4 separate regions of the Homo sapiens genome follow, and all the other regions are linked to region 3. The links are contacts of gene promoters, found by promoter capture Hi-C in human tissues and cell types (Jung and others, 2019). All regions are on one chromosome and are shown on one strand. The core of a region is centred on a gene start or on the middle of the fragment in contact, and the rest is flanking DNA. Distances in the headings are between cores, read along the strand shown. Region 1 overlaps GARRE1 (granule associated Rac and RHOG effector 1). Region 2 has its middle 83 kb from the start of LSM14A. Region 3 holds the start of CEBPG (CCAAT enhancer binding protein gamma). Region 4 overlaps GARRE1 (granule associated Rac and RHOG effector 1).

What was found. The method cuts DNA at HindIII sites, captures the fragments that hold promoters and counts their contacts. A contact is called where the count stands out against the background at its distance.
Region 1: a contact is called between a fragment that was not itself captured here and the fragment with the promoter of CEBPG in region 3, in 1 of the 25 tissues and cell types used here (hippocampus).
Region 2: a fragment that was not itself captured here is called in contact with the fragment with the promoter of CEBPG in region 3 in 2 of the 25 tissues and cell types used here (H1 embryonic stem cells and mesenchymal stem cells).
Region 4: a contact is called between a fragment that was not itself captured here and the fragment with the promoter of CEBPG in region 3, in 1 of the 25 tissues and cell types used here (lymphoblastoid cells).

Annotation. Positions count from the first base shown.
Region 1 is chr19:34,305,935-34,312,929 of GRCh38, forward strand. The region is part of intron 2 of GARRE1 (granule associated Rac and RHOG effector 1); the gene reads left to right. Among named protein-coding and RNA genes, the nearest start is that of GARRE1, 55 kb to the left of the region's middle. RefSeq lists an enhancer at 4,556-5,055. The HindIII fragment of the contact is 3,275 bases long and covers 43-3,317 here.
Region 2 is chr19:34,086,023-34,093,319 of GRCh38, forward strand. It overlaps the pseudogene RPS4XP21. Among named protein-coding and RNA genes, the nearest start is that of LSM14A, 83 kb to the right of the region's middle. The HindIII fragment of the contact is 4,884 bases long and covers 1-4,721 here.
Region 3 is chr19:33,370,315-33,378,106 of GRCh38, forward strand. It overlaps CEBPG (CCAAT enhancer binding protein gamma), which reads left to right and starts at 3,395. Exons shown (of 2, transcript NM_001806.4): 1 at 3,395-3,581. RefSeq lists a silencer at 3,182-3,991 and an enhancer at 7,489-7,792. The HindIII fragment of the contact is 10,998 bases long and covers 1-7,792 here.
Region 4 is chr19:34,318,233-34,325,834 of GRCh38, forward strand. It overlaps GARRE1 (granule associated Rac and RHOG effector 1), which reads left to right. Exons shown (of 14, transcript NM_014686.5): 3 at 1,675-1,884. Among named protein-coding and RNA genes, the nearest start is that of GPI, 43 kb to the right of the region's middle. RefSeq lists an enhancer at 1,552-1,846. The HindIII fragment of the contact is 5,735 bases long and covers 3,043-7,602 here.

The DNA.
Region 1 (6,995 bases), core at 430-2,929, 930 kb after region 3:
TCTGAGTTTCAAACAGCTGACTTACAAGTGAATTTCTAAATGTGATTGCCAAGCATAGGCCCGCAGACTTCACGTTTCACTTTTTCCCCAGAGCAATATTTGTTGTTTCTGGAATTTATGTACTGCCAGGGGATTTAGCCATAGGCCAATAAGGGTCTCTCTCAGAATTTTCAGCAACTCAGATGAAATGGCTAGGCATTTGGATTTTTTCCTTTTGGTTTTTTAAGGATTTTTATAAGCAAGGCCCTGAGAGTCACTTTGACATTCATCCCTGGGGAAAGAGGTCTGTGGCCTAACATTGCCAGGCAAGGCCTCTACTCAGGAGCTCAGTCCAGGACTGTGGGTGAGAAAAGCTCTGGATTCGAGAGTATTCAAATATTTGACCATTTAAGAGTTAGGACAAAGGATGATCCTGTCCCCTTGCCATGTGGCCAGTGCATGTGTGCAGTGTTCCCAGGTGCTTCTGACTTACAGCCAAGTTTGGGCTGTGGTTATTGATTGACAGATACTGATGCCTTTGTCCAGGAATGGTGGTTGCTGACTGTGTGCTCTGCCACCCTGCCTTGGAACCAGCAGGGCATATGTGAGTCCTGTCCAGTCTATACTCACCAGTGACTTTGCCCCTTAGCCCGAGTGGTTCACCCTCACAGTCTCTCTGTTAGAGAAGTGAGTTGTGACTATGGGGTTTCACTAGCTGACTAGTGCCTGTGACACTGGTACATCAGCCTAGGAAGTCAGTTACTGGGCACAGAGTCAGAAGACCTGGGTTTGGAAGGTGACATCTATCACTTAAATAAAATTACTTTTTCAGTGGAAGTGTACATAAATAAAAGAATCAAAGTGACTTGTGATTTGTGCATTCATTCCACAGATATTTATTGTATGCCTTGTTTCTGCCTGATACTACTCCAGCATGTCGATTGCAGTAGTGAACATGACAGAAATCTCTCCCTTCATGTAGCTAGAAGGGAGTTTCGATCTTAGAGAAGGTAGTTAGAAAAGGTACCACTGAGAAGGTGACATTCGAGTAAAGGCCTGAAAGGGATGAGAGAGCAAGCCTGTTGGCCCAGAAAAGAGGATTCCAGGCGGAGGGAGCGCCGAGCACAGAGTCCCAGAGGCAGGAGCCAGCCTGGAGTGTTGGAAGAGCAGGAAAGAACCTGCTGTGGCTAAAACAGAGTGAATGGAAGGGAGAGAAGCAGGGGTGAGGTCAGAAGGGTAAAGAGGGGCCACTCTGGTGTCTGTTCTGAGTAGCCAGGTAGGAGGCAAGGTGAGGTACACCTCTGAAGGGCAGGGGATGGGAGGGCAGCAGGCTGGGCCCTGCCATTCTTTTGTAGTGAGCAGCGATGCCACTTCTCCCCTTGCCTTCTTCATACTGGGTAGCTCCAGGGCTCTGGTTTTACGTTGGGTCCTCAGTGTTGAGAGGTGTTGGTCCTCTATGTAGGCAGTCCAGGAACCCAGGGCAGCCATGGGGCTCCCAGGAGTTGTATGTCTCTAAGGAGACTGTATTTTATAAATTCCAGCATTTTTATTGACTTTTCAAGTATTTACCATCTTGTGAATAAGCAGCCAGACTTATATGTATATATACGTATTATATATATATATGCCAGACATATATATAAAATATGTATTTTTTATATATGTATGTATATATATACACATACGCACACACATACATATATATACTTATATATACATATATACTTATATATACATACTTATATATACATATATACTTATATATACATATATACTTATATATACATATATACTTATATATATACTATATATACATATATACTTATATATACTATATATACATATATAGTATATATATACTATAAAATATATATACTATAAAAAAAAAATATATATATATATTTTTTTTTTTTTTTAGAGATTAGGCCTTGCCATATTGCCCAGGCTAGCCTCGAACTCTTGGGCTCAAGCAGTCCTCCAGCCTCAGCTTCCCGCGTATCTGAGACTGCGTAGCTGAGACTACAAGTATGTATCACTGGGCCTGGCTCTCAAATCTTTACACAGTTGCATCTTGGCTTTCAGTTTGACACAACAACAAATTTCTTTTGTATACTATGTGATTACCTGTGAATATGTTTGAAATAATTTATCTGTGAGTGCTGACTGACTCTTAATTAAGGACCTTAATTCAGGTATATTAACATTTATTTTGGATAGATATATACCAGAAATATTGTAGAGTAACAATAATGGAAAATATTAGAAGCTGGTTTCAAAAATACGATTTGCATTAACCTTAATGGAATTGAATGTGCATCCTGTTCCTTTTTTTTTTTTTTTTTTTTTTGCCCTAAAGGTAAAAGTAAGTGTTACTTGTTTTGACTGGTAGATCTTCTGTAACAGATTATGGAGTAAATATTTCCTAATGGTATGTGCCAGATGAAAGTTCATATTGCTGCTGCTAATCAGAAACTGAAGTTCACCTCATAAAAAGCTTGTATGAATCCAGTTTTGAAACTTGCTAATTTCAGGTCAGTGTTTTTGGCTTACTTTTTTGCTGAGGTGAATCTGCTATTACCTAAATTGTCTTCAGACTTTAGCCTGTAGAGGAAGCTGTACTTAATTAAGCAGCTGGAATTTGGGTGATTCTGTAAATTTGCATTGTGGTCAACAAACATGATTTACCATCTGTCTAGCCCATTCTACGTGGGTGGAAGCCACCAAGGCCATTGGGCATCTGTCACTGTGGAGGGACTGGACCCTTTGACTTTGATTTGTCAAGACAAGCATGTGCAACCAACTCATTATTCTGATAAATGCTAATTAAAAGGAGAAAAGTAAGGAAATAAGCAAATTTCCTGCTTTTCCAGTAGAAACTGTTTTTCATGGTAACCAAATAGCCCTAATGGATGAGAGAAAAATCTCCACTTTGCAGACTGTGATCAATTCGGTGACTCAACCAGTGGCCAACAGTGGAGGATGAAACCATTTGTTGGAAGGTTGCTGAGGAACCGCATTTGGGAGAATCAGGCCTTCCGCACCCAAATCTCATTGATCAGCCTTAGTGTCATGGAAATGGAGACAGGTCATCACGTCTCCTGATGTGCTGCAGCAAGAACCGCACAACACATCTAATATTAATAATATTCTACTTCTCCCTCTTTAAAAAAAAAAACAAACCCTGAAATAATCTAATCAAGCTTCTAAAATGAATCCAGTCTACAGGAAATGTGGGGTGTAGTGACGCAAGTTATGCAATACCACGAGAAGGCAACCAGACAAATTCACAATGTGGCATATCCTGTAATAAGTTGACCTGATTTGTTCAACAAGTCAGTAGCATTAAAAGAAATTACACAGAATGTACTGTTCTAGATTAAAAGAGTTAAGCAATATAACAACCAAATAAAATTACCTTTTTGGGGTTGAGGTTCAAACCAAATGTAAAACATAATTTTTAAAAGATAAGTTGGGAAGCTTGAACACATACTGAGTCTTGGTTGATTGGGATTTACTTCAAAAAAAGAAAAAAGATGGGGAAGGATAGATGGTAAAAGCATGGCAAAATGTTAATGGAATTGAAACTTTTAATTTTTTTGTAGAGACAGGATCTTGCTGTGTTGCCCAGGCTGTGAGCCCAGGTCTCAAACTCCTGGGCTCAAGTGATCCTCCCACCTCAGCCTCCCACAACACGGGGATTATAGGCTTGAACCACTGTGCCTGGCCATAGGATTGAAGTGTTTTGATGGGTACATGGGGGCTTGTTATGTTCTGCTTTTGTGTACGTTTGGACCTTTTCCAAGTTTGCAAAAAGTGAGAGAGAAATTCAGGAATGTATTAAAGACGTAATATATCAGAGTACCCAATAAATAACTCCATTTCATGGAGGGCTTTTCGCATGTGAAGTGGTCTTCTAACAGAAAGGGGAGCATTATTGAGTAGTTAGAAAACCCAAGGTGTAGGGATGAAGAGAAAAGCAGGTGTTCTTCAAAAAAAATGAAGAGAGTAAAAGTGAATCAAAGGAGAAAATGGGAACAGAGAAAAGACCGTCTCTGAAAGTGGGAGGCCAGCAGCAGGTGGGAGTCAAGGAAAGAATGAAATGTTGCTAATTTTGGGGACTAGTGATTGAATGGCAATGTTGCTGTCTTTTTAGAGAGTAGGATTTAAAATTTTGAGTTGCTGAAAAGGCTTGCGTGATGTGCTAGAAAAATTAGGTTTGGTGGGCAGATTAGAAGGAAACAAATAGGAGAGTTCATGGAATATAATTTCAGATAGAACTGGCTTTCCTGAATTAATTTTTTGGTTCTAGTCAGCTTAGGAGATCTCACAGGATTGGATAATGGCCTGTTCTGGCAGCCTCCCTCCTCTTTACAAACCAGGAACCTGAGCACCCATAAAACAGCATTTGCCTGAAGTCCTTCTGAGGCCAGCCCATGTATGGGTTATGTGTCCTATGTGTCTGCTGCCTCCCCACTGCCTCGGGCCAGTGCAGTCTAGTGCAGAGGGGCTTGTTGGCAGAGGCCATCCCCCTGTGAGAACAGGCTGTCTTGCCCCTCTGCTAATGGTGAAATGTCCAGAGCCAGGAAATCAGAAATAGCGTGATGTAGAGGCACCCCTGAGCACCCTTGCTCGCACTAGGGCCCCTCCTGAGTAGGCCCAGCCACCTGGCCTGCCTTCCTCTTCTCCCAGCTGAGCCACCCACCCTCCTCGATAAATACACATGAGCTAGCTGCAAGCATTGCACAGATGACAAGGACAATAAAAGCACTCCAGGACTGGTAGGCCAGATAAATAAATAGACTGGCACTAGGTGTGATGAGTGCTGTGATGCAGATGGAAAATAGCCTGAAGTCTGTTGATTCGGCAAAACTTTCAACTGCTCCTCTCCCCGCACCCAGCTCACTGTGCCAGGGCCAGCCCTCATACCAGAACCTCCTACCTAACTGAGAGCGCATCTGAGCAGGGGCAGGGCAGAGAGCCCAGTAGGCCCTGGGGAGAGTGAGGAGATACTGGTAGTTGCCTCTGAATATCCAATCTCTTTTTTCTTTTTTCCTTTCTTCTTTCTTTCTTTACCTTCTTTCTGCCCCCGCCCCCCCGCAAGACAGGGTTTCACTTTGTTGCCCAGGGTGGAGTGCAGTGGAACAATCACAGTTCACTGCAGCCTGAACTCCTGGGCTCAAGCAATCCTCCTGTCTCAGCTTCCCAACTATCTGGGTCTACAGGTGCATGCCACCACACCCAGCTAAACTGTATTTTTTTGTAGAGTTGGGGTTCCATTACATTGCCCAAGCTGCCATTTTTTCTTAGTAACAAACTCTCATTTTGTTTTCCATACTGTACCTGGAATAAGGACTACACCTCTTAGTTCCTTAAAGCTGGGAGTGGTCACTTGAATAAGATCTGGTTCATGACGGTGTAACTAGAAGTACTGCATGAGATTAGTGGGATATCTCCTTAAGGGGAAATTGGTGCTCCCTCCTCCTCCAATTTTCTACCGTCTCCAGTGCGTGCAGAATGACTGATGGCCATTTAACCATTTATAATCGTGAAGTCACCTAGAAATAGGAGCCTCGCATGAGTGTGCCGAGCAGAAAGCTAGGAAGTGGGCTCCTTGTGATGCCCTGGCGTCTCCATTCCAACCCTGGTCCATCTGCTCTGGATTTGTTTTACCTTAGAAAAAAATAAACATAATTTTTTTTTCTTTTCCCCCCTCTGAGATGTAGTTTCGCTCTTGTTGTCCAGGCTGGAGTACAGTGGTGCGATCTCGGCTCACTGCAACCTCTGCCTCCTGGGTTTAGGCGACTCTCCTGCCTCAGCCTCCCAAGTAGGTGGGATTACAGGCGTGTGCCACCACACCCAGCTAATTTTTGCATTTTTAGTAGAGATGGGGTTTCACCATGTTGGTCAGGCTGGTCTCAAACTCCTGACCTCAGGTGATCCCCCTGCCCTGGCCTCCCAAAGTGCTGGGATTACAGGCATGAGCCACCACACCCGGCAACATAGTTCTTATTTAAGCCACTGTATTGGTTTTGGGTTTGATTTTTTTTTAATTAAAAATTATTATTATTATTTTTATTTTTACTGTAGAGATGGAGTCTCACTGTGTTGCCCAGGCTGGTCTCAAACTCCTGGGCTTAAGCGATCCTCCTGTCTGGGCCTCCTAAAGTGCTGGGATTACAGGTGTGAGCCACCATGCCTGGCCTGTTTCTGTTTTTGTTTTTGTTTTGTTATATGTAGATAAACCTGATTCTAATTAAGTGGAAGCAGGAAGACTAGTTAAGGGGCTATTAGAGCAGTCTAAATGAGGGATGATAGTAGTTTGGAATAGAAGGGTAGCAGACGTGACTAGAAGTAGTTATGTGTATTTTTACTGTGGTAAAATATATGTAACATAAATTTTGCCATTTTAACCATTGTTAAGTGTTCAGTAGTATTAAGTACACTTACATTGTTGTGCAAGCATCACCATCATCCATCTCTAGAACTTTCTTATCTTCCCAAACTGAAACTCTGTACCTGCTCAACAATAACTCCTGGTTGCCCTCTCCTCCCAGCTCCTGGCAACGAACATTCTTTCTACCTCTATAAATTTGACTACTCTAGGAACCTCGTATAAATGGAATCATAGAATATTTGTCCTTTTGTGACAAGTGTGTTTCACTTAGCATAATGTCTTTAAGGCTCATTCATGTTGTAGCTCGCATCAGAATTTCCTTCTTTTTAAAGGCTGTGGCCGGGCGCGGTGGCTCATGCCTGTAATCCCAGCACTTTGGGAGGCTGAGGTGGGTGGATCACCTGAGGTCACGAGTTTGAGACCAGCCTGGCCAACATGGTGAAACCCCATCTGTAGTAAAAATACAAAAATTAGCTGGGCATGATGGTGAATGCCTGTAGTCCCAGTTACTCAGGAGGCTGAGGCAGGAGAATCGCTTGAACCTGGGAGGCTGAGGTTGCAGTGAGCCAAGATCGTGCCATTGCACTCCAGCCTGAGCAACAAAAGTGAAACTCCGTCTCAG
Region 2 (7,297 bases), core at 1,030-3,529, 710 kb after region 3:
GAAGGGGATGTGACCAGCCTCTAGCCAAGGTCTCAAAACTGTGTCAAGGCAGCATTTTTTTAAAAACATATTTCACCCGCGAAGCCAAAATTGTTTACTGTTTGCTGACCCATGGTCCATAAACGAAGTCTAGATATCTGGTTCCAGTTGGAAGTCACAACCCACATCTTAAATGTGCTTTCCACAAATGTTTATGGTGATAACTCACCACAAATGTTTATGGAGATAACTCAGGGAATATAAAATAGGTTAAATTTTCCCACATTGAGAATGAATGAAACATGTCCTAGAAGTCACGGGGTCGGTTCTCAGCCCCAGTCTCAGTCCTGCAGGTCATGGCAAGCCCCACAACTCAGTGGCAGTTCCCAACAGGCCAGGGGTGAGCAGAGTCTATACTGTGGATGTCACCATGGCAATGGAGCCCAGTGGTCCGAAGTCAGACAAGCCCATGTTCAAATGTTAGTTCTACCACTTATCAACAGCATGATCTTGAGCAAGTTACCTATATTGGTTATCTGCTGATGCATAACACACTATGCCAAAACCTAGTAGCTTAAATAATTGTCATTTAACATCTCCTGCAATGTCTAAGGATCAGGAATCCTGGGGCAGCTTAGCTGGGTGGCTTGGGCTCAGAGTCTCTCAGAAGGTTGTAGTCAAGGTGCCAGCCAGGGCTACCACCAACCATCTGAAGGCTCAAATGGGGTTAAAGAATCCACTTCCAAGTTCATGCATGGGTAGTTAGCAGGTGATAGGGTTTGGCTGTGTCCCCACCCAAATCTCATCTTGAATTGTAGCTCCCATAATCCCCACGTGTTGTGGGAGGGACACAGTGGGAGGTAATTGAATCATAGAGGTGGGTCTTTCCCTTGCTGTTCTCATGGTGGTGAATAAGTCACATGAGATCTGATGGTTTTATAAACAGGAGTTCCCCTGCACAAGCTCTCTCTTGCCTGCCGCCATGTAAGACATGCCTTGCTTCCCCTTTGCCCTCTGCCATGATTGTGAGGCCTCCCCAGCCATGTGAAACTGTGAGTCAATTAAACTTCTTTCCTTCATAAATTACCCAGTCTTGCGTATGTCTTTATTAGCAGCATGAGAACAGACTAATACAGCAGGTCTCAATGCCTCACTGGCTGTTAGGCAGAGGTCTCTGTTTCTTATCCCATGGGTCACTCCATGGGCTGCTTGAGTATGCTCTCAATATGGCAGCTGACATTCCATAGGACAAGTGATCTGAGGGAGAGAGAGAGAGAGCACGCAAGACAAGACAGTGCTCAAGAAGGAAGCCAGTCTTTTATGCCTAATCTCATAAGAAGGACAGCCTCACTTCTGCTGTATGTAATTGGTCCCACAGGTTAACCCTGGTACAAGATGGGAGGGGACTACATGAGTATGTGAATACCAGGAGGTGGGGATCATTGTGGGGGGCTGGCTGTGCATTACCTTTATTTAAGCTTCAGGTCAGGCTGGGTGCAGTGGCTCATGTCTGTAATCCCAGCACTTTGGGAGGTCAAGGCAGGCAGATTGCTTAAGCCCAGGAGTTTGGACCAGCCTGGCAACATAGTGAGACCCTGCCCAGAAAAAGAAAAAAAGCTTTAGGTCTACCATTTATGAAGTTAGAATGATAATGATAATAGTACCTGGTTTATAAGGTTTAAATGAGAAAGTGCTGGCCGGGCGTGGTGGCTCACACCTGTAATCCCAGCACTTTGGGAGGCCAAGGCAGGCAGATCATGAGGTCAGGAGATCAAGACCATCCTGGTTAACACGGTGAAACCCCGTCTCTACTAAAAATACAAAAAATTAGCCGGGCGTGGTGGCGGGTGCCTGTAGTCCCAGCTACTCGGGAGGCTGAGGCAGGAGAATGGCATGAACCCGAGAGGTGGAGCTTGCAGTGAGCTGAGATCGCGCCACTGCACTCCAGCCTGGGTGACAGAGCAAGACTCTGTCACAAAAAATAAATAAATAAATAAATAAATAAATAAATAAATAAATAAGAAAGTGCAGTCAAGCCCACTCACAGGGCTTGGCACTCAGTGAAGCATTCTGTAAATGCTTGCAATTATTATCTACCTCACTGTGGCCACTCCTGCCACTACCACTTCCATAATAATAACAAAAGGGTAAGGGGAACCCTTCCGCATCACAGGGAAGTTTCCTGTCCTTGGCCACTTCTGGGTGAGCTCTCTTTCCGCTTTACAAGGGCAACCGTAACTGTCTGAAAAAATAAACCTCCAACAAATTCAAACTAGTCTCTTTTTCTCTCACCTTGACCTAAAATCTTTGAAACAGACACCCACATAACTCCTCTAGAAAGGCAAACCCAAAAATTGTCAGAGTAAAAAATTCAATGACTTAAGATAAAGGGGATTATTTCCTTAGAAATAAACTCATTTAAGAAATTGTAGAAACTTCAGACATATCAATTTCAATATTCAAGGACATCACTCATTCAACAAATATTTACTGGGCATGTGTTATACATCAGGCATGGCTCTAGGAGCTGTATAAACAACCTGGAATTTAACAGATGAAATCTCTGCCCTTAGAAATTTGCAGGCTAGTGGGAAATAAACAAATAGGTTTTAAAAAAATAAAAAATAGAGTATGTTAGCTGGTATTGAGTTAGAAGCTGGTAATGAGTTAGATAAAAAATAAATAAAGGCCAGGCAGGCTGCTCACTCCTGTAATCCCAGCACTTTGAGAGGCCAAGGCAGGTAGATTGCTTGAGCTCAGGAGCTGGAGACCAGCCTGGGCAATATGGCGAAATCCTGTCTCTACAAATAAATAAATAAACTAATTAAGTAATTAATTAAAGATGGAAAGTGGATGGGATGATGTTAAAATTATCAATAGATGATCAAAAAAAGTTTCACTGTCATTTGCACAAAATCCAAAAGGAGGTGACAAGATGAGCCATGAGGATATGTCCTGAAAGGGTCAAGTGCTTGGCCTTCAGAGAAGAGCAAGTAGGCCAATGTGTCTGGAGTCCAATAAGGCTAGGGTAGAAATGGTGGCAGAGAAAGTTAGAGAAGTAGATTGGGGGATGCAGAATCAAGCGCAGTCTTGTAGGCTGTTGTAAGGACTTGGACTGGGTCCTTACAACAAAGAGGCACCATTGGCAAAAGAGGCACCATTGGGTTTTGAGCAGAAATGTGACATAATGTGATTTACGTTCTAAAAGCATTACTCTTAGACAACTAAGGGGAGTGAGGACAGAGGCAGAGAGAGCCATCAGGAGGCCACTATGAAAATCCAAGTGAGGAATCATGGCAGCTTGAAAAGGATGGCAAGACAGAAGTTGTGAACCTTGGTCAGGTTCTGGATTTGAGTGGGAGAGTCCAGAGTCTGTTAATGAAGTCTATGTGAGCTGTGTGGTAAAGAGAAGAGTCGCGAATAGCTTTGAATTTTTTGTTTGCTTGTTTGTTTTTTGAGACAGTCTTGCTCTTTCTTCTAGGCTGTAGTGCAATGGCATAATCACGGTTCACTGCAGCCTCGACCTCCCTGGCTCAAGCAGTCCTCCCACCTTAACCTCCCAGGTAGCTGAGACTACAGGCATGTGCCACCACGCCTGGCTAATTTTTATTTTTTGTATTTTTTGTGGAGACAGAGCTTCACTGTGCTGCCCAGGCTGATATCGAACTCCTGGGCTCAAGCGATCCTCTGACCTTGGCCTCCCAAAGTGCTGGAGTTGCAGATGTGAGCTGCCACACCCGGCTGCTTTGAAGTTTTTGACCTGAGCAGCTTAAAGAATGCAGTTGCCATGTACAGAGATATAAAGAGGTATGGAAAGAGCAATGTGGTTGCCTCAGGAGTACAGTGTGGGACATACTGAGTTTGAGATAAGATAACCGTGGGACATCCAAGTGGGATGTAAGGAGACAAGTGATAGACAAGTCTGGAGCTCAGGGGAGAAGTCTGAACAGGGGATATAAAGTTGAAGTTTCCATGATTTGAGAAGATATTTCCATCATTAGAAATGATAGTTAAAGTCTTGAGGCTAGGAGTAAGTGCAGACAGAGAAAAGACCTAAGATCTAAGCCCTGGGGCACTCCAGCATTTAGAATTGGGAGAAATATGGCCGGTCACAGTGGCTCACACCTGTAATCCCAACACTTTGGGAGGTCAGGGTGGGCAGAGCACTTGAGGTCAGGAGTTCGAGACCAGCCTGGCCAACATGGTGAAACCCAGCCTCTGCTAAAAAATACAAAAAAGTTAGCTGAGCATGGTGACACGTGCCTGTAATCCCAGCTACTTGGGAGGTTGAGGCAGGAGGATCACTTGAACCCGGGAGGCGGAGGTCACAGTGAGCCCATATCATGCCACTGCCCTCCAGCCTGGGCAACAGAGCGAGACTCCATCTCAAAAAAATAAGTAAGTAAAATATAGTTGGGGAGAATAAAGAGAAAACAGCAAAGGACTCTGAGCAGTGACCAGTAAAGTCGAAGGAAACCCAAGAGAGTGGCATGTGTAAAGCCAAGTGGAGAAATGTTCTCCAGAAGGGAGTGACGAGCTGTGTCCGATGCTGTTGGGGTGTCAAGTACCATGAGCAAGTGAACTGAACAGGTGCAGGGAGGTCACTGGTGACCTTGATATGAGAGGTATTGGAGGAGTGGTGGAGGTGACGCCCCACTGGAATGGGAGGAGAACTGGAGACAGTGAAGATGGATAACTCAAGGATTTGGGCCATAAACAAAGCAGAGAAATGGATGGTAATTGGAGAACATGGTGCAATGAAAGGAATTCACTCATGATCCACATAAGCTAATGGGAATATTCCAGTAGAGAAGGAAATATCCGTTGATGGTGCAGGAAAGAAAAGAGGGAATTGCTTCAGTGGGTCCTTGAGAAGGCAAGAGGGGAAAGGATCTGGCGCCTGGTCAGGGGCGGGCCTCAGACAAGAGCCAGAAAGTCCATCTACAGTAACAGGAGCAGCGTGCCTGGGCACAAAGGCAGGAACATGGATAGATGTGTCCCACCATGCTCCGGCCCTCCCTGCTGCACTGCTGATCAGGCAGGTTGTAATTACCACCCTGTGTGTCTGCCTGTGTCTCCAAGACCTATGAGAGAGAAAGACCATGTAGGTCAACATCGCACTTTCAGTGCCCAGGACAAAGCCTGGTGCAGAGCAAGCACTCAACAAGTATGGTGAATGGCTCCTTGCAAAACGAGACAATATCGATCTTACCTGGCAGATATTAAAAAATCATAAAGGTAGAAATTGTAATGCAATGTGGCAATGGCACAAGACAAAACAGACAGATCAATGGAACAGAATTTAAAAACTAAAAAACGCCGGGTGCAGTGGCTCACGCCTGTAATCCCAGCACTTTGGGAGGCCGAGGTGGGTGGATCAGTTGAGGTCAGGAGTTCGAGACCAGCCTGGCCAACATGGTGAAACCCCGTCTCTACTAAAAATACAAAAATTAGCTGGGCATGGTGGCACATGCCTGTAATCCCAGCTACACGGGAAGCTGAGGCAGGAGAATCACTTGGACCCAGAAGGTGGAGGTTGCAGTGAGCTGAGATCACACCACTGCACTCCAGCCTGAGAGACAGCGTGAGACTGTCTCAAAAAAAATAAAAAATAAAAATCTGGCCCGGCACAGTGGGTCATGCCTGTAATCCCAACACTTTGGGAAGCTGAGGCAGGAGGATTGCTTGAGCCCAGAAGGTGGAGGCTGCAGTGAGCCGTGATTATGCCACTGCATTCCACCGTGGGCGACAGAGTGAGACCCCGCCAATAAGCAGTAATGGCATAAAATGCTTAACAAATGCTGTCAATACAACCTGATACAATAATACAAATATTCAGGAAAAATAATGTTTGCTATGTCATATGACACACAAAAATGAATCACCAGCCGGGCATGGTGGCTCACGCCTGTAATCCCACCAATTTGGGAGGCCGAGGATCACTTAAGGGCAAGAGTTCAAGACCAGCCTGGTCAACATGGTGAAACCCCCACCCCCAACCCATCTGTACTAAAAATACAAAAATTAGCTGGATGTGGTGGTGGGATTACAGGCATGAGCCACCACGCCCAACCAGAAAGTGGTTTCTTGAGATGGAATCTGCTCCTGGTGAAGATGCTATGAACATTGTTGAAATGACGGCAAAGGATTTCAAATATTCCATAAACATAGTTGATAAAAAGGTGGTAGTGTTTGAGAGGATCAACTCTAACTTTGAAAGAAGCACTATATGCAATGATATCACACAGCACTGCATGCTACAGAGAAATATTTTGTGAAGAAGCCCATCGGTGTGGCAAATTTTATTGTCTTATTTTAAGAAATTGTCACCCCAGCCTTGCAACAACTGCCCTGATCAGTCAGCAACCATCAATATCAAGGCACGACCCTCCACCAGCAAAAAGATTATGACTCGCAGAAGGCTCAGAGAGATGGTTAGCATTTTCTAGCAATAAAGTATTTTTACTTATTTTTTTAATCATGCCATATTATTTTAAATTACATACGAAGATCTAACATGTCACCCACAGACCATTTCATCCACTGCTCTGTTTGGCTGCAGTCTCTTGTCTCTCCCTTCAGCAATGGTGAAGCGGATACCCTTTCCTCGGGGAAGAGAAATACATGGTTTGTTGCCCTTGTCAATAACAAAAATGATGGAAAAGCTGTTGCTGTTGGCATCTTTCACGTGAATCGTGTCAAAAGATCCAGGGTGCCTCTCTCTATTGGTGATCACACCAATTCTTCCCCAGTTAGCACCTCCAGTCACCAAACACAGGTTACCAGTGTCGAACTTCAAAGCAGTGATGTTGCCAGTCTCCAAATCAATCTGAATGGTGTCGTTCACTTTAATGAGGGAATCAGGGTGGCGGATAGTGTGAGCATCGTGAATCACCAGGTGAGGGGTTCCTTTTGTGCACACAAAGATTTTTCTCATTTTGCATAACTTGTACTTGACTTCCTCAGGTGTAACACGATGTACAGCAAAGCGACAATTGATGCCATAGATCAGACGGAAACCCTCTCCCGTCTTGTCAATGCTGATGACATCCATAAATCCAGTAGGGTAGGTTATATCAGTTCGAACCTTGCCATCTACCTTAATGAACCACTGCATGCAAATCTTCTTCACTTCATCTCCTGTCAGGGCATATTTAAGTCTGTTCCTCAGGAAAATATGAGGGAGACACTCTCTCAGCTTTTGGGGACCAGTGGATGGACGAGCAGCAAACACACCAGTCAATTTATCCAGCATCCAACGTTGTGGAGCTGCTACCCGCTTCAGATGCTGCTTGGGACCGGAAGCCACAGCTGTAAT
Region 3 (7,792 bases), core at 2,145-4,644:
TTTCTTGGGCCCACATGGCCCTGCCTATCTTGTTGGTCTCCACTTTACTTTCAGCCACTTTAGCCTTAAATTTCTCCCATCACAGGGCCCCGGACAAGAATTCCCTGTGACTGCTGCACCCACGTCCTCTGTATTGCCTAGCCAAATCCTGTCAATTTTTCAGGCTTCCCCGGACCCATCAGACTAGGTCTGGTTCGCTTCTGATTTCTCACAGCGTCTTGTACTGCTTTCTTGTAGTATCTATGAAAATGGTAATTGAAAAATTGTGGACCAGGGGAGGTAGCTCATGCCTGTAATCCTAGCACTTTAAAAGGCCGAGGTGGGTGCATCACTTGACCTCAGCTGTTCGAAACCAGCCTGGGCAACATGGTGAAACCCTATTGCTACAAAAAATACAAAAATTAGCCAAGCATGGTGGCGCATGCCTTGTAGTCCCAGTTGCTTGGGAGGCTGAGGTGGGAGGATCACCTGAGCCCAGGAGGTCCAGGCTGCAGTGAGCCATGCTTGCCCCACTGCACTCCAGCATAGGTGACAGAAAGAAAAATTGTGTAATTACCAAACGCCTGTCTGCCTGGCTGTAAGTGTAAGTTCCATGTGGGCAGTGACTGTGTGTTTGTCTTGCTCATTGCTGAATCTCCAACACTTAGCCTACGGCTTAGTACATAGTTGGCACCAAATGCATACTTGTAAACTGAGTAGAAGAAAAACTACCAGCTACCAGCTGAAAAGAAAATAAATACCCGAGTGTCCTGGGCACTGACTAGACTTGCTGGGTGTGTAAGAAGGCCTGCCCAGACACAGATACAAAGAATGCTGGAACAGCTTGGCAGGGCGGTTTGCAAACCAAAGGATAACTGAATATACCTATGCAAGTTCTTTTTTTTCCCCTTACACATTTTTCTTTTTTCTTTTCTTTCCTTTTTTATTTTTATTTTTTTATTTTTGAGATGGAGTCTTGCTGTCACCCAGGCTGGAGTGCAGTGGCGTGATCTCAGCTCACTGCCAACATTTGCCTCCCGAGTTCAAGCAATTCTTCTGCCTCAGGCTCCCGAGTGGCTGGGATTACAGGCACCCGCCACCACGCCTGGCTAATTTTTATATTTTTAGTAGAGACAGGGTTCCACCATGTTGGCCAGGGTGGTCTCAAACTCCTGACCTCAGGTGATCCGCCTGCCTCGGCCTCCCAAAGTGCTGGGATTACAGGCGTGAGCCACTGTGTCTGGCCCCCTTACACATTTTTTAAGTGATTAGGAAATATTCAGGGTAAAATTATGATTTTGTGAGCAATAAATCACAATCCTATTTTAATAGTACTAAAATCTTGATCAAAGCAAGTTCAGGCAGGACTTGGTTACTCACACCCTTAATCCCAGCAATCTGGGAGGCCGAGACAGAAAGATCACTTGAGCCCAGGAGTTTGAGACCAGAGTGGACAATATGGTGAGACCTTGTCTCTACAAAACATTTTTAAAAAATTAGCTAGGTGTGGTGGTGCATGCCTGTAATCCCACCTACTTGGGAGGCTGAGGTGGGAGGATGGCTTGAGCCCAGGAAGTCGAGGCTGCAGTGAGCTGTGATCAAGCTGTGGCAGTGCCATTGCACTCCAGCTGGGGCAACACAGCAAGATCGTCTCAAAAAAAAAGAAGAAAAGAAATTTAAGCTGAGAATACTGAGAGCCAACGTGAAGAAACACACTTGTTTCAATGACACTTATTCTCCTAAGTGTGCATCTGTGAGCATTATTACCTGTTTTTTTTTTTTTGGAGACAGGGATCTCATTCTGTGGCTCAGGCTGGAGTGCAGTGGCTCAATCTCAGCTCACTGCAACCTCCGCCTCTCAGGCTCAAGCCATCCTCCCATCTCAGACTCCAGAGTAGCTGGGACCACAGGCACAGCGCCACCACACCCGGCTAATCTTCTGTATTTTTGGTAGAGATGGGGTTTTTCCATGTTGCCCAGGCTGGTCTCTAATTCCCGACCTGAAGTGATCAGCCTGCCTCGGCCTCGCAGAGTGCTGGGATTACAGACCTGAGCCACCGCGCCCAGCCCATTGTTCACCGTTGTGACCCCTTTTAATTTTTATTTATTGCTTTATCATCTTACTGATTCCTCGAAACAATCTTACGGGGCGAGCCGGTTCCATGGGCGCTGAAGAAACATTTCCTCTTTCAAAGCCTCAATTGTTTGAACGATACGCGTTGCTAAAGAGGAAGCAATTAAACCTATCAGGCGAGTTCTGCCCTCCGCCCAGCGAGCTGCTGCTTCCTGGTGTTAAAACGCTTTCGGGGCCAGGCGCGGTGGCTCACGCCTGTAATCCCAGCACTTTGGGAGGCCGAGGCGGGCGGATCACGAGGTCAGAAGATCGAGACCATCCCGGCTAAAACGGTGAAACCCCGTCTCTACTAAAAAAATACAAAAAATTAGCCGGGCGTAGTGGCGGGCGCCTGTAGTCCCAGCTACTTGGGAGGCTGAGGCAGGAGAATGGCGTGAACCCGGGAGGCGGAGCTTGCAGTGAGCCGAGATTGCGCCACTGCACTCCAGCCTGGGCGACAGAGCGAGACTCCGTCTCAAAAAAAAAAAAAAAAAAAACGCTTTCGGGTTCTCCTGGCGAGTTTTAAGTCACACTGGATCGCTGCTTATTTTCAGAGATCACCTCGCACCCATGCACCTGGAAGGCACCCAAAGAGAATCATTTTAAGAAATTCACTTCATCTCACCCTAACAACAAAGCACAGCCTGCAGCACATGGATTTCACCCATGTGACATCAATGCTAATCCTATGTGTGAAACATCTGGGTTCATTCGATTTTTTAAAAATTAGTAACTGAGATGGGGTCTCGCTATGTTGTCCAGGCTGGTTCTCCAACGCCTGGGCTCAAGCCATTCTCCCGCCTCGGCCTCCCTCGGCGCTGAGATTATAGGCGGGAGCCACCGCGTCAGCCTCCACTCTTTTTGCGGCGACAAAGCCCGCCCGCCTGCGGGGCGTTCCGTTCGCAGAAACTCTGTGAGGGACGCCGCGGGGGCTTCCAAGGGACGCGGCGAAACCAAAACAGTCGCCGGTGGTTCACAAAACCACCTCAGAAAATGCTTCCAAAGGCACGTCTGGCCTCCACAAGGTGACGGCTTTTCAGCCTCCGACTCGAACTTGAGTCGTCCACAGCACTAGGCCGCCGCCAGCCCGGGCGAGCTGCCTAGGGACCGCGGACGCCGCAGCAAGCAGCTCCCTGCTCCCGCCACACCCGCCGAGCCAGCCGCGCGGAACCCACTCCCCCACCGTGGGCCCGCCTCCCGCCGCCAGCCTGCCCACGATTGGTCGACTGGGCTGCCCGTCGCGAGAGAAGGCGGTGCCTCCGGCAGGCCGGCGCTCCCATTGGCCGGGATGGCGGCGGCGGCGCGCGCGGCCCCGGCGAGCAGGGGAAGCCGGTGGCCGCGGCTGCGGAACGGGCGGAGGCTGCCGGTTTCGTAACCGTCGCTCCTCCTCGCTGACTCGCGGGCTGTGAGGCCTGGGTCGGCTCGGGCCGCACCGCGCGGGGCCGCTCGGAGTGGAGGCCGCCTGGGGGCAGGCGGGCTAGAGGAGCAGGTAAGGAGGCTGCGGCGGGCGCCCTGAGAACGGGGAGGAGGAGGCCGCGGCGACGCCGGCCGCTCGACTGGGTGCGGGCCCGGCTCGGGGAAACCCAGCCCCGGCCCCAGACGGCCCGCTGGCCCGGGAAGGCCACGCGAGGCTGGAGGCGCGGGCGGCGGCGCCGCGCGGCGTCTGATGCAACCTGCCGGCAACACCCGGCGGGGACGCTGAGCTCATTCCTGGCCGCGGCCCAGCGCTGCGGCGCCGCCCGTCGACCCCCGCGCTGCCCGGGGCGCCCCTCGCGGCGGGCCGGGAGCGCGCGAACGGCCGGGGAATGCCCCCTGCGGAGCCCGGCCCCCTCTCGGTGAAACGGGCGCTGTGACCCGCCAGGCTCGCATTGGCCCCTGGGGATGAAGGGTGTTCCCAGAATAGCAGAAGGTGGACCGAGTCGAGCTTTAGAATCCTGATCTTCTAGAAGGGCTCAGCTTGCGGTGATCGAAAATCTGTTCAGAAGTTCAAAGACTGATCAATAAAATAGGGAAAGCAACTGGTTTTTAAATGCATGACTTTGCAGAGATAATATTTTGCTTCTTTGTGGAGCTGTTGGAATGTCCTGCACTTTACTGTTGAACGTAGTTTAGAAGAACACGCAACACCTACGGGTCGAATAGAGAAGAAATGAAGCACTTCGCAGGCATAGTTGGAGGGAGCGGAGCAGGGCCGACAGCCAGCGGAGGTGACCAGATGCGAAGGATGGAAATGCATGTGTCGCGGGGGGAGGAGAGTGTTTTCCAGGGCAGCTGGTGTGTTGCTTCTCTTCCGCAGGTTTACGTGTTGGGTTTTCCTCTTGTTTGAAGTTTATACTGTAATCTGGCATCCTGAAATGTATAAGATTTAGAAAGGTCTCAATGTTGATGGGTGACACCAAAATTGGTAGTTGTGTCAGAATTGACTGCTTATATGAATAGGTTGTCACTTAAGGCAGACTTCTCCCAAAGAAATGTGACTCCCAGAGAAAATTTTAAAAGAAAATCCTATAAGGGCTTGCTTTACGAAGACATTCTACACCTAGAAGCTCTTGATATTTAAGATGTGGTCATCTGTTAGCCCTTGAGTAGTATTTGGGATAAGCTGTTCATAAGGTCGATTCTGCTTCTGGAAAAAGTTGCTGTAAACAAGGCTAAATAATTACAGGGTACAAGGGAGCTGAAGCATATTTCAGCTTCTTGATTCCTGCTTTTGGTGGGCACACTTGGCTGGTTCAGTTATTTTTAATACCTGCTTTTAAAAAAAGTAGATGGAAACAAAACTTCATTGAGAATATCCTTTAAATTCTCAAGATCACATCATGTCTGTCTGCAAGGCTGTCTGATCTTGGAGAGATGGTTTCATCCCTGGGAAATTAAACACTATGTGCTGAGCCCCTGGTAAAGACAAATAGGACCTCGTGGGGCTGAATTTGGTCTCGTGGTCTAAGATTGCCTCACTTGGTCACAGTAATGGTAAATACAGGTAGCCACGATTCCAGCTGTATTGTGCGTTCTTGGGAGGGTTGGTTCCATGGGTTGTTATATTGATAGGTACACTGGCCTCCTGCGTTTGTGGCTTTCTAGCTCTATCAGTAAAAAAAAGACAAAAATGAGCATGACCTCCTAATGGATGTTCATTTACAAATAGTCTATTTGTTTTGTGTGTTGTAAATCACTTCAAAAGGATTGGGTTAGAAAGATGATGTTGATGTTCTTCTAATGCTCCAGTGACCCACTTCTGTACTCCCAGAAAGGGGACGTCCCCTTCCTCATGGACCCTGCGCTAGATGCTTGTGAAGATCTGCAGGGAGACACGATGCGGCTGGAGTTGACAGACCTAGGGAACAAATTTTCCCAGATGCCCAAAGAAAAGAGAAAGCACAGACCATTTAGGATACAGATAGTGGTTTAGTACTGTCAAGATGTGGTGTGAGGGAGGAGAGAGGGTCAGGACCTTGGATTTGATCCTGTAGACTGGAGCCAGAGATGAATTTTCACCAGGAGAATGACTCACTCAGGTTTGAGTGTTCAATTGCTCTGGAGACAGAGGTTGGAGGAAGCAGGCTAGACCAGAGACCAGTGTCCCTGAGAGATGATAGTGGCCTAAGGTGATTTCGATGGGATTGGGATGGAGAGGAAGAGTAGATGGGAAGTTTTTTTTTTGTTTGTTTTAGGTGGAATTGTCAAATCCCAGAGACTAAACAGAGTTAGGACCAAGGAGAAACATCTGTGACTATTTTGAAATGTTGACCTTCATTGAGGAAATCGAGTGAAAAATTTATTTTGGTGGGCAAGGGGAGGAATATTGGGTTCTAGGTCTGTGGAGAAAAGGGACAAAAGGGTTAGGAAAATTCTTGATAGGTTTATTTTCCCAGGTGAAACTTGAGAAAAATTTGATTTTGTTTTACTCATTCTAACATTCTGCGCTTTCAGTGTGACTGACGTGAATGAACATTACTTGAATTAAGTTTGAATTAAAACAAAGCCTATTACCCACTTAGTCCACCATTCTCAATATTCATTGGGAATCAGCAGCAGAGGCCCTCAGACTTCAGTGTATTCAGAGTTACTTGGAGGTCTCCTTATGAAAAGATTACTCAGCTCTGTTCTTAGAACTCCTGATTCTAAGTCTGGGGCAGCCTGAGAAGTTACATTTCTAAAGAGTTCCTGGATGATGATGATGCTGGTCCAGGGACCACACTTTGAGAACCACTGCTCTTCAGCTTTCCTGCTGTTTCCTCCTTGAGTGATTCACATGGAAGGAAGCCAGGCGCCGCCCTGCATCCTGTAGCCTGAACTTTGGAATAGTGTTTGTCCACAGAGGAGCCAGACTTGAATTTAGGACTGAGTGTCCAGCTTTCAAATAAACACTTTTTGCCTGTTGTAGGTGTTCAGTAAATGTGTGTGGAGGAACAAAGCGTAAATGAGAGTGGCCTTTTCAGTGTAAAATCACTTAGCTCTTTGATCCCCTTTTACTTGGTTAATCTTCACTTTAAGAGCTATTTATATGGTTAAAGAACTTACTAAACAAAACATTCTTGGAGTTATTTTGATTATCTCCAAGTTTCTCTTTCTTACATTTTCACCAGTTTGTAGGTTCAGTGAATACTCTTTTCAGGCCAAAGGGCTTACCTTTAAAACCTCACCTACCACACACGTTCAGCCTAGTACCTTGCAAGATGAGTCAGGCAGAGGTGAAAAAGCCCTTCCCTGTTCCTGTATCTTTGGATACGGAAACAGGCGTGAACGTTGCTGAACGTGGACCCTGTAGTGAGTAAGAGCTGTTTGTTAGTGACTGAAGGTCGTGGTGTGTTGTCTGTAGGAAAGTGTCTTACTATTCCACATCCCTCATTTGCATGTGGGGAACAGACAGCCATGGAAGAAAAGAGATTTGCCCAAACTAAAATAGGGGGAGCCACAGCCAAGACAAGAACTGGCCTGGTCACTGGTCTCTACCGCTTTGGATCATTGCTATCTCTGAGCATGGACAAGTTGACTGTAGAGAGCTTTAAAGGCTAAAAATATAATTGGTATATTAAAAAAAAAGTAGAGAAATAAGGTGAACATGATTATGATTGTTAAGACAGTCTCAGGGGAGGTGTTAAACAAGTTCTTAAAAATTGAGTAAAGCACCTCTCACTTGACACCAAATGGATAATAATAATGTTAGGTGGCACTAAATGTGGCTCAGATTAATACTAAACAGCCACTTTTCTACTGGAAGAAAAATGAGGCAACCTAATGATGACCAAGGGAAATTGTGAACTGTCCATTACTGAAGATAGGCTTGGAGTGGATCGCCCTCATGGTTTGGAGGGATGCTTTTTGTCTTGCCTTAGTGTTGGCGTGAGAACAGATGACCTACTAGCTCAGAGTCGGCTGTGTGGCTTTGAAAACAATGGAAAGTAATGACACATGGACTTTTCAAAGCAAAGATGTTTTTTAAAAAGAGACCAATAAACAGTGTACAGAATTGCCTGGCTGAAGGTTTGGGTGTAGCTACTGGTGTTTGCTAACTGAGCTTTCCCTCATTGTGGGATCACTGCATAAATCTGACTCCAGATTTTTTCCACTGATGTGATTTTAGCAGTTTTGTGAAAAGAGAACAGGATAGTTTTATGTTCCTAACACTGCTTTCTAAATTTCTAAGAGTGCCCTGATTCCTTGGTGGACACCGTTCACTGAACTTAGTTTGTCTTG
Region 4 (7,602 bases), core at 4,660-7,159, 950 kb after region 3:
GCAAAGGTAGATGCTGAGGCGAGGCAAGGCGAGAGGTCCACATGCGTGCCACAAGGCAGAGAGTCCACGTGTGCACCTGAGGGGAGAGGAAGGTTGAGTCTTACTGTGTGCTGCTCAAGGGACAGGACAGTGCATGGGCACTGTGCTGGATTTTGGTTCCTTGTAAAAAGCAATGGCTATAGTTCCCTGACCTTCACCACTTGCGTGAGGCAGTGGGCTGAGGGCCGGCTGTGAGTAGGCTCTCTCAGGTCCACTCCTGCTCAGCTGGGTGAATTGCAAACTCAATAAAGTAAGTTGTTGTGAATAAGTAATCTGCATAAGCCAAAGAAATATAAAATATCTTCCACAAAAAATTATTAGGGAGCAGGATAAAAGAGCTGCAAAAGGTTTTTGTTGGTATTATTGCCAAATCTGATGTGGGCAAAACAACTATGAGAAATTAGGAAAAAATGTCAATAATCTGGAAGGTTTGTGGTCAAGTTGCTTTGTAAGTGGCCAGTTTTTGCCCTGTGTTAAAGAGGAAATAAGGCCGGGCATGGGAGCTCATGCCTGTAATCCCAGCCCTTTGGGAGGCCGAGGCAGGTGGATCACCTGAGGTCAGGAATTCAAGACCAGCCTGGCCAACATGGTGAAACCCCGTCTCCACTAAAAATACAAAAATTAGCCGGGTGTGATAGTGCACCGAGGTCAGAGAATCGCTTAAACCCAGGATGTGGAGGTTGCAGTGAGCCGAGATCACGCCACTGCACTCCAGCCTGGGTGACAGAGCGAGACTCCATTTCAAAAAAAAAAGATAAATAAGAAATGATAGAGAACACATTGTAACTGTGGTTTATGCAAGAAAGTAACAGGGAGGAGCAGCAAAGGAGCTGTCAGAACAGCCTTAGCCCATACCAGAAGGCTGCCAGAGAAATGCACAATCATATCTGAAAATGTTTGTGGCACATAGTATATATTTAGTATACATCTTATTATAATTACATATTCATGTGTATAGTATTTTTTAAGTTAATTTCCTACTTGGACTATTAGCAACCAATCACTGATATATATCAGGTTAATGGGTTTCTACTGTACTCATGAGTGGAGCTGTCCATTATATTTTCTTGACTCCTGGAAGACTGGTCTGTCAGCTTTGTTTCCTAAGACTGGAATGATGACATACAACTATGTTAATAACTATGTTAACACTCCTACTAAAATAACCGGTATATTTGGATTCCATTTTCAACGGAATGTCTTATGGTCAAACTGGCCTTCTTTCAGATTTTTAGTTGCATGGTTTTTCCTTTACCTTCTGAATACTGTATGGACGTAATTGCTGTTGTGGATGGCTGTGGTTCAGCAGGAGCTCAAAGACACCAGAAGTGGTGTGAGTCCAGATATAGGGGGTGGAGACAGGATTGGGGGTTACTTGGTGGGAAATGGGAAGAATTATTTCAACCTTGGGCCTTGTTATTTGATGGAAATGTTTTGACTTCCAGGCATCAGTCACCGAGGTCCAAACACAAAAACAAAGGCAGATCCTTCTGAAGCATGGTGGCCTTTTAACTTTGTATGATTTTGGATTTCCAGTTAACTATTGCTTCTATTCAAGTTGGTCATTGAAAATTTACTGCGCGAATCCAACAGCAACCCACAACCTAAACATCCCTGGCTGTCTTGTTTTCACAGGTGTTGGGGCGATGTTTCCTGACTGTGGTGCAAGTCCATTTCCAGTTTTTGACTCATGCGTTACAGAAGGTCCAGCCGGTGGCTCACTCTTGCTTTGCTGAGGTCATCGTGCCAGAAAAAAAGAACAGCGGCAGTGGCGGCGGCTTATCTGGCATGGGCCACACACCTGAAGTAGAGGAAGCTGTGCGGTCCTGGCGGGGGGCTGCTGAGGTAACCCTGGCTTTGGGGAGATTGGTGCCTGTGTTCAAATAGGAGAGGCTCCAGAGGGCCTTTGCCTGTTGATTCTCAAAACAGCCATTTCATTTAGAAATGTACATTTTAAACTGTTATCATTGGCTTGTTCATTCATTTAACAGTGAACATCTTTGTGAATGCCCACTTTGTGCCAGGCATGTGCCAGGCACTAGGATGACAACCTCTACTCACAGCCTCCTGGGAGAATAGGCTTACAAAAACAGGGCTAAGGGGCCAGGATGGAGATATGCGGGAGCCAGAGGAAGGGAGGGCCCTGTCTCTGAACGGTAGTGCTGCAGGAAAGCTTCTAAGATGGGGGACCAGTGAGAAGAGGCTGGCACCCAAGTCAGGAAAGACGGGGTGGAGCTGTCTGGGGAGGGTAAGTGGCCAGCCAGGCAGCGAGGCAGGCGAGCAGGAGTGTTTGGCAGACGGATGGGATGACAGGCTCCAAAGATACAACCACAGCAGGGCGAGAGCTCAGTGGACACAGGGAATTTTGTGTTTTTTGTTAGTCAAATCATTCCCTATAGAAGTGCTTGGAATCTTTGTAACTTTTTAAATTCTTTAAGTTTTTCTTTTTCTTTTTCTTTTTTTTTTTTGAGACAGGGTCTTGCTCTGTTGCCCAGGCTGAAGTGCAGTGCTGCGATCAAGTCTCACTACAGCCTGTACCTCCGGGCTCAAGAGATACTCCCACCTCAGCCTCTTCCAAGTAGCTGGGACTACAGGCTCATGCCACCATGTCTAGCTTATTATTATTATTATTACTTTTTTTTTTTTTTTTTTGGTAGAGATGAAGTCTCACTATGTTGTCCAGGTTGGTCTTGAGCTACTGGGCTCAAGCGATCCACCCACCTCTGCCTCCCAAAGTGCTGGGATTACAGGCATTAGCCACTGCACCCAGACAAGATTCTTTTTTTTTTTTTTTTTTTTTTTTGAGACGGAGTCTCGCTCTGTCCCCCAAGCTGGAGTGCAGTGGCGTGATCTCAGCTCACTGCAAGCTCTGCCTCCCAGGTTCACGCCATTCTCCTGCCTCGGCCTCCCGAGTAGCTGGGACTACAGGCGCCCGCCACCAAGCCCGGCTAATTTTTTTTTTTTTTTTTTTTTTTTTTGTATTTTTAGTAGAGACAGGGTTTCATCGTGTTAGCCAGGGTGGTCTCAATCTCTTGACCTCGTGATCTGCCTGCCTTGGCCTCCCAAAGTGCTGGGATTACAGATTTGGACAAGATTCTTAATTGGTCTAACTCTGCCTAGATCCTCATTTGTCAGTGCTTTACATGTGATTTCAGCAGTTCTCCAGTATGCTTTATGTGACTTCATGAAGTTTTTTTTTTTGAGACGGGGTCTCACTCTGTCGCCCAGGCTGGAGTGCAGTGGCACGATCTTGGCTCACTGCAACCTCCGCCTGCCGGGTTCAAACAATTCTCTGCCTCAGCCTCCCAAGTAGCTGGGATTACAGGCGCCCGCCACCATGCCCGGCTAATTTTTGTATTTTAGCCCCAGCTAATTTTTGTATTTTTAGTAGAGGCAGGGTTTCACCGTCTTGGCCAGGCTGGTCTTGAACTCCTGACCTTGTGATCCACCCACCTTGGCCTCTGAAAGTGCTGGGATTACAGGCGTGAGCCACTGCACTGGGCCAACATGAAGTCTTTTATCCCTTGGAAGATCAGCTATTTCCCAGCACAGCAGATATGTTTATAAAATCTAGCCATCATGCAAGAGCTAGACTGAGTGGTTGGCTCCCTAGTGGATAGAGAGCGCAGTGGTGTGGGATGGTATGGCATGGTCATCAGGGATAATGTGAAGGAGAATTGTGGGATTCTCCTCTCGTGGTGACAACCTCATGACTAAATGGTGGGCTGCAGGGAGCCGCTCCGGTGGGGGGATTCTAGCCTAGCGCAGGGTTGCTTTCCTAGTCACTCTGGTGTGGCATTCTCTATTCCTTTTCCACAGCCAGAAGAATTTAAGCTTAAATAAAAGGCAATCAAAAACAGCTCTGAAAAAGTCTGTTTTAAGGAGACTTTGCCTATAATCAGTGACATTTCTTTTGGGAGACAGAGTTTCGCTCTTGTTGCCCAGGATGGAGTATAATGGCGTGATCTTGGCTTACTGCAACCTCTGCCTCCCAGATTCAAGCCATTCTCCTGCCTCAGCCTCCCGAGTAGCTGGGATTACAGGCGCGCACCACGACGCCTGGCTAATTTTTGTATTTTTAGTAGAGATAAGGTTTCACCATGTTGGCCTGACTGGTCTTGAACTCCTGACCTCAGGTGATCCACCTGCCTTGTCCTTCCAAAATGCTGGGATTACAGGTGTGAGCCACCATGCCTGGCCATTAGTGACATTTCTTGTAGGCATTTTAATACTTATTTCTTTCCAGTATGAGAAATAAAAAATAAATCTTAGAAGTTGAGACTTTAGGACTTACTGCTCCATTTTACAGAGTAAAAGATAATTTTCTTTTTTTTGAGACGGAGTCTTGCTCCTTCGCCCAGGCTGGAGTGCAGTGGCGCAATCTCGGCTCACTGTACCCTCTGCCTCCCGGGTTCAAGCAATTCTCCTGCCTCAGCCTCCTCAGTAGCTGGGATTATAGGCACCCGCCACCACGCCCAGCTAATTTTTGTATTTTTAGTAGAGATGGGGTTTCGCCATGTTGGCCAGGATGGTCTCAAACTCCTGACCTCAGGTGATCTACCTGACTCGGCCTCCCAAAGTGCTGGGATTACAGGTGTGAGTCACCCACCTGGGCCAAAAGATAATTTTTTTAAACTATCCCAGCAGGCAAACACAGATTAAAAGATAATTTATGGTTAGCAATATAGTGATTCATTAAATAATGTCTAGTTCAAATCATTCCATAATTAACTTGGCAAAGTATTTCTTTTCTTTTTTTTTTTTTTTTTTTTTTTTTTTGAGGTGGAGTCTCGCTGTTGCCCAGGCTGGAGTGCAGTGGTGCGATGTTGGCTCACTGCAGGCTCCGCCCCCCGGGGTTCACGCCATTCTCCTGCCTCAGCCTCCCGCGTAGCTGGGACTACAGGTGCCTGCCATCTCACCTGGCTAATTTTTTGTATTTTTAGTAGAGACAGGGTTTCACTGTGTTAGCCAGGATGGTCTCGATCTCCTGACCCCGTGGTCTGCCCGCCTCAGCCTCCCAAAGTGCTGGGATTACAGGCGTGAGCCACGGCGCCCGGCCTAGTATTTCATTTTATGTTTTGGAAATTTTCTTTAATAAAATTTTCAAAACATGATTTTTCACATGTTAATATTGTCCAGTCTCTAGTTTTATTATTTCAATTTCATGCCATTTGCTGCATTGTTGTCATTTCTTTTTAATTTTCACTGTTTTCTTGCATGTTTTGGTCTGTCTTTCATGCTAAAGACTTCCTAGGGCTTTCTTTCTGTTCATCAGAAAGGCCCTGGAATGCTAATTGGAGGCTGTGTGTGGGGGTGGGACCTGTTAGCTTTATTGTAGATGGCTAAGCCCTGAGGTCCAGACCTGCACCTTGTTGCCTTGTCATGTGACTTTACAACCCTCGGTGTCCTCCTGGCTGCTGGGCCCCAGCCTCCTGACTGTTCAGCTCACACACGTGAACCTAACACCTGCCTTGGTCCCCTGCTCCATCTTCTAGACAACTCATGCTGAGGACCAGCCCACAGGAGGAGGCCTCCGAGTTCTCTCTTGACGTCTTCACCTTGACCTTTTTTGCCACCATTTTAGTCTGTCCAGGCCTTTCTGCCCTTTCTACATTCCCTTTGCTTTCAGCCAGTGATGCCACCCCCTACTACACTGAGCAAATAGAATCTCCCTGATGGCAGCCCTTCTTCCTCATGTGGCCAAGCCACCACCACTCCTGCCATCCCTCTTCACAACCATCTTTTCTTCCTTCCCCTGCCTCATGACAGCAGAGGAGGTGCCCTCTCCTCCTGTCCAGGCTTGCCCCGTGCTGGCCTTGCCCCCATCCTCGAGGGCCCAGCTTCTGTGGTGCGACCTAGTGTTTTCTCTCCCTCATCCTCAGCCTGTTCCCACCAGTACACAAAGATGCTTCCCACAGAAAAGTCCACTCTGCCCTGCCCTGTTTCTCTGCTCTTTTCTCAGCCAACTTCTTGGAGTAGTTGTCTACCTTTTTTTCACCTTTCATTCATTCTAAAAAATTACTATTTTATTTTTACTGCACCTTGTGGCTCCTTACTGCTCCTGGCACACCCCGTGGACAGTTTACTCAGAGTAGTCTAAAAAGTAATTATTATTGAAGTATTTCAGGCACATAGAACATTTCACACCCATCAGTGTATCTTCCTTTTAGCTGCCTGCCATATTTGCTCATGCCTGTTACATATTTTTAACAGAAAAATATCACCAGTGCACTTTTTTTTTTTTTTTTTTGAGACTGGGTCTTGCTCTGTTGCCCAGGCTGGAGTGCGGTAGTGATCACAGCTTACTGCAATCTTGACCTCCTCGGCTCAAGCAATCCTCCTGAGTAGCTCAGACTATAGGCATGCACCACCATGCTTGGCTAATTATTTATTTTATTTTACTTTTTATTTATTTTTTTAAAGACAGGGTCTTGCTATGTTCCCAGGCCGGTCCCAAGCTCCTAGGCTCCTGCACCCGGTCTGTAAATGCACTTGAATCCCTTTTGTACCTCTCCACTTTCTTATTCATCCCTTTGTCTCTAGAGATAACCTCTGTTGAATTTGAAGCGTGTGATCCTTGTGCATATTTTAATATTTTTTCCGTATATGAATGTATCTATACATAAGGTATTATTTTACACAGTCTGAAACTTTATATACATAATGTCATTCAGCTTGCTGAAATCTGGCTTCCACTCCTATACAAGAACATGCCTTCTCTTATCAAGGTCATTGGTGCCTTCTTCCATGTTTTCAAATCCAGGGAACCCTTTCAACAACTTTCAGCAGCTCACAGCAGTGTGGAGAATATTCCTCCTTGGAAATACTCTCAGCTTGTGACATCCAAGAACCAACCTTTCTTTCCTCTTGGGTCATCCTTTCTTCATCTAGTTTACTGGCTTCTCCTTCCTCAACACAATTTCTGAATGTGAGTTTCTCCAGGCTCAGTTCTAGCTGCCCTTCTCCCTAGGGGTTCTCCATCCAGTCTTGGGACTGAAAAACCACCTGTGTCCTTGGAGGGGGCTCAAATGTGTGTGATCAGTGAGCAGCCCACTTCCTGTGGGCTTCAGGCCCCTGAGCTCAGCTGCTACCGGGGGTCTCACAGGTGGCTCAGGCGTAGCCTCTCTCCACTCACCTGTTCCTCCCTAGACCCTCTCTATGCTAGTGAGTGGTGCCATCCCACACTGGCTTCACTTGAGAAACCTGAGATTTATCCTTCAGCATTTCCGTCATGTCTACACCCAGTCCAATCCTTAAGAAAACCCGGCAGTTCCCACCTCCAAAATCTTATCCCAGATCTGTCCCCTTCTTCCACGTCCTTCATCGCTACCCTTGTTCAGGGAATCGTTACTTCTCCCCTCCCTGTCTTGCTCGCCTTCATTTTAAAATTGGATGATGTCGCTTCTCATTTCCTTAGGGTAGCATGTGGACCCCTCAGCACGACCTGCCTAGACCTGCCTAGTCTGGCTCCTGCCTTGATGGCCAGCCTTATCAGTGGCCACCCTGCCCTCGCTCACTGGGCTCTAGTTCCTTGGATGTGTCTTTCTTTGTTACCTTGGATCC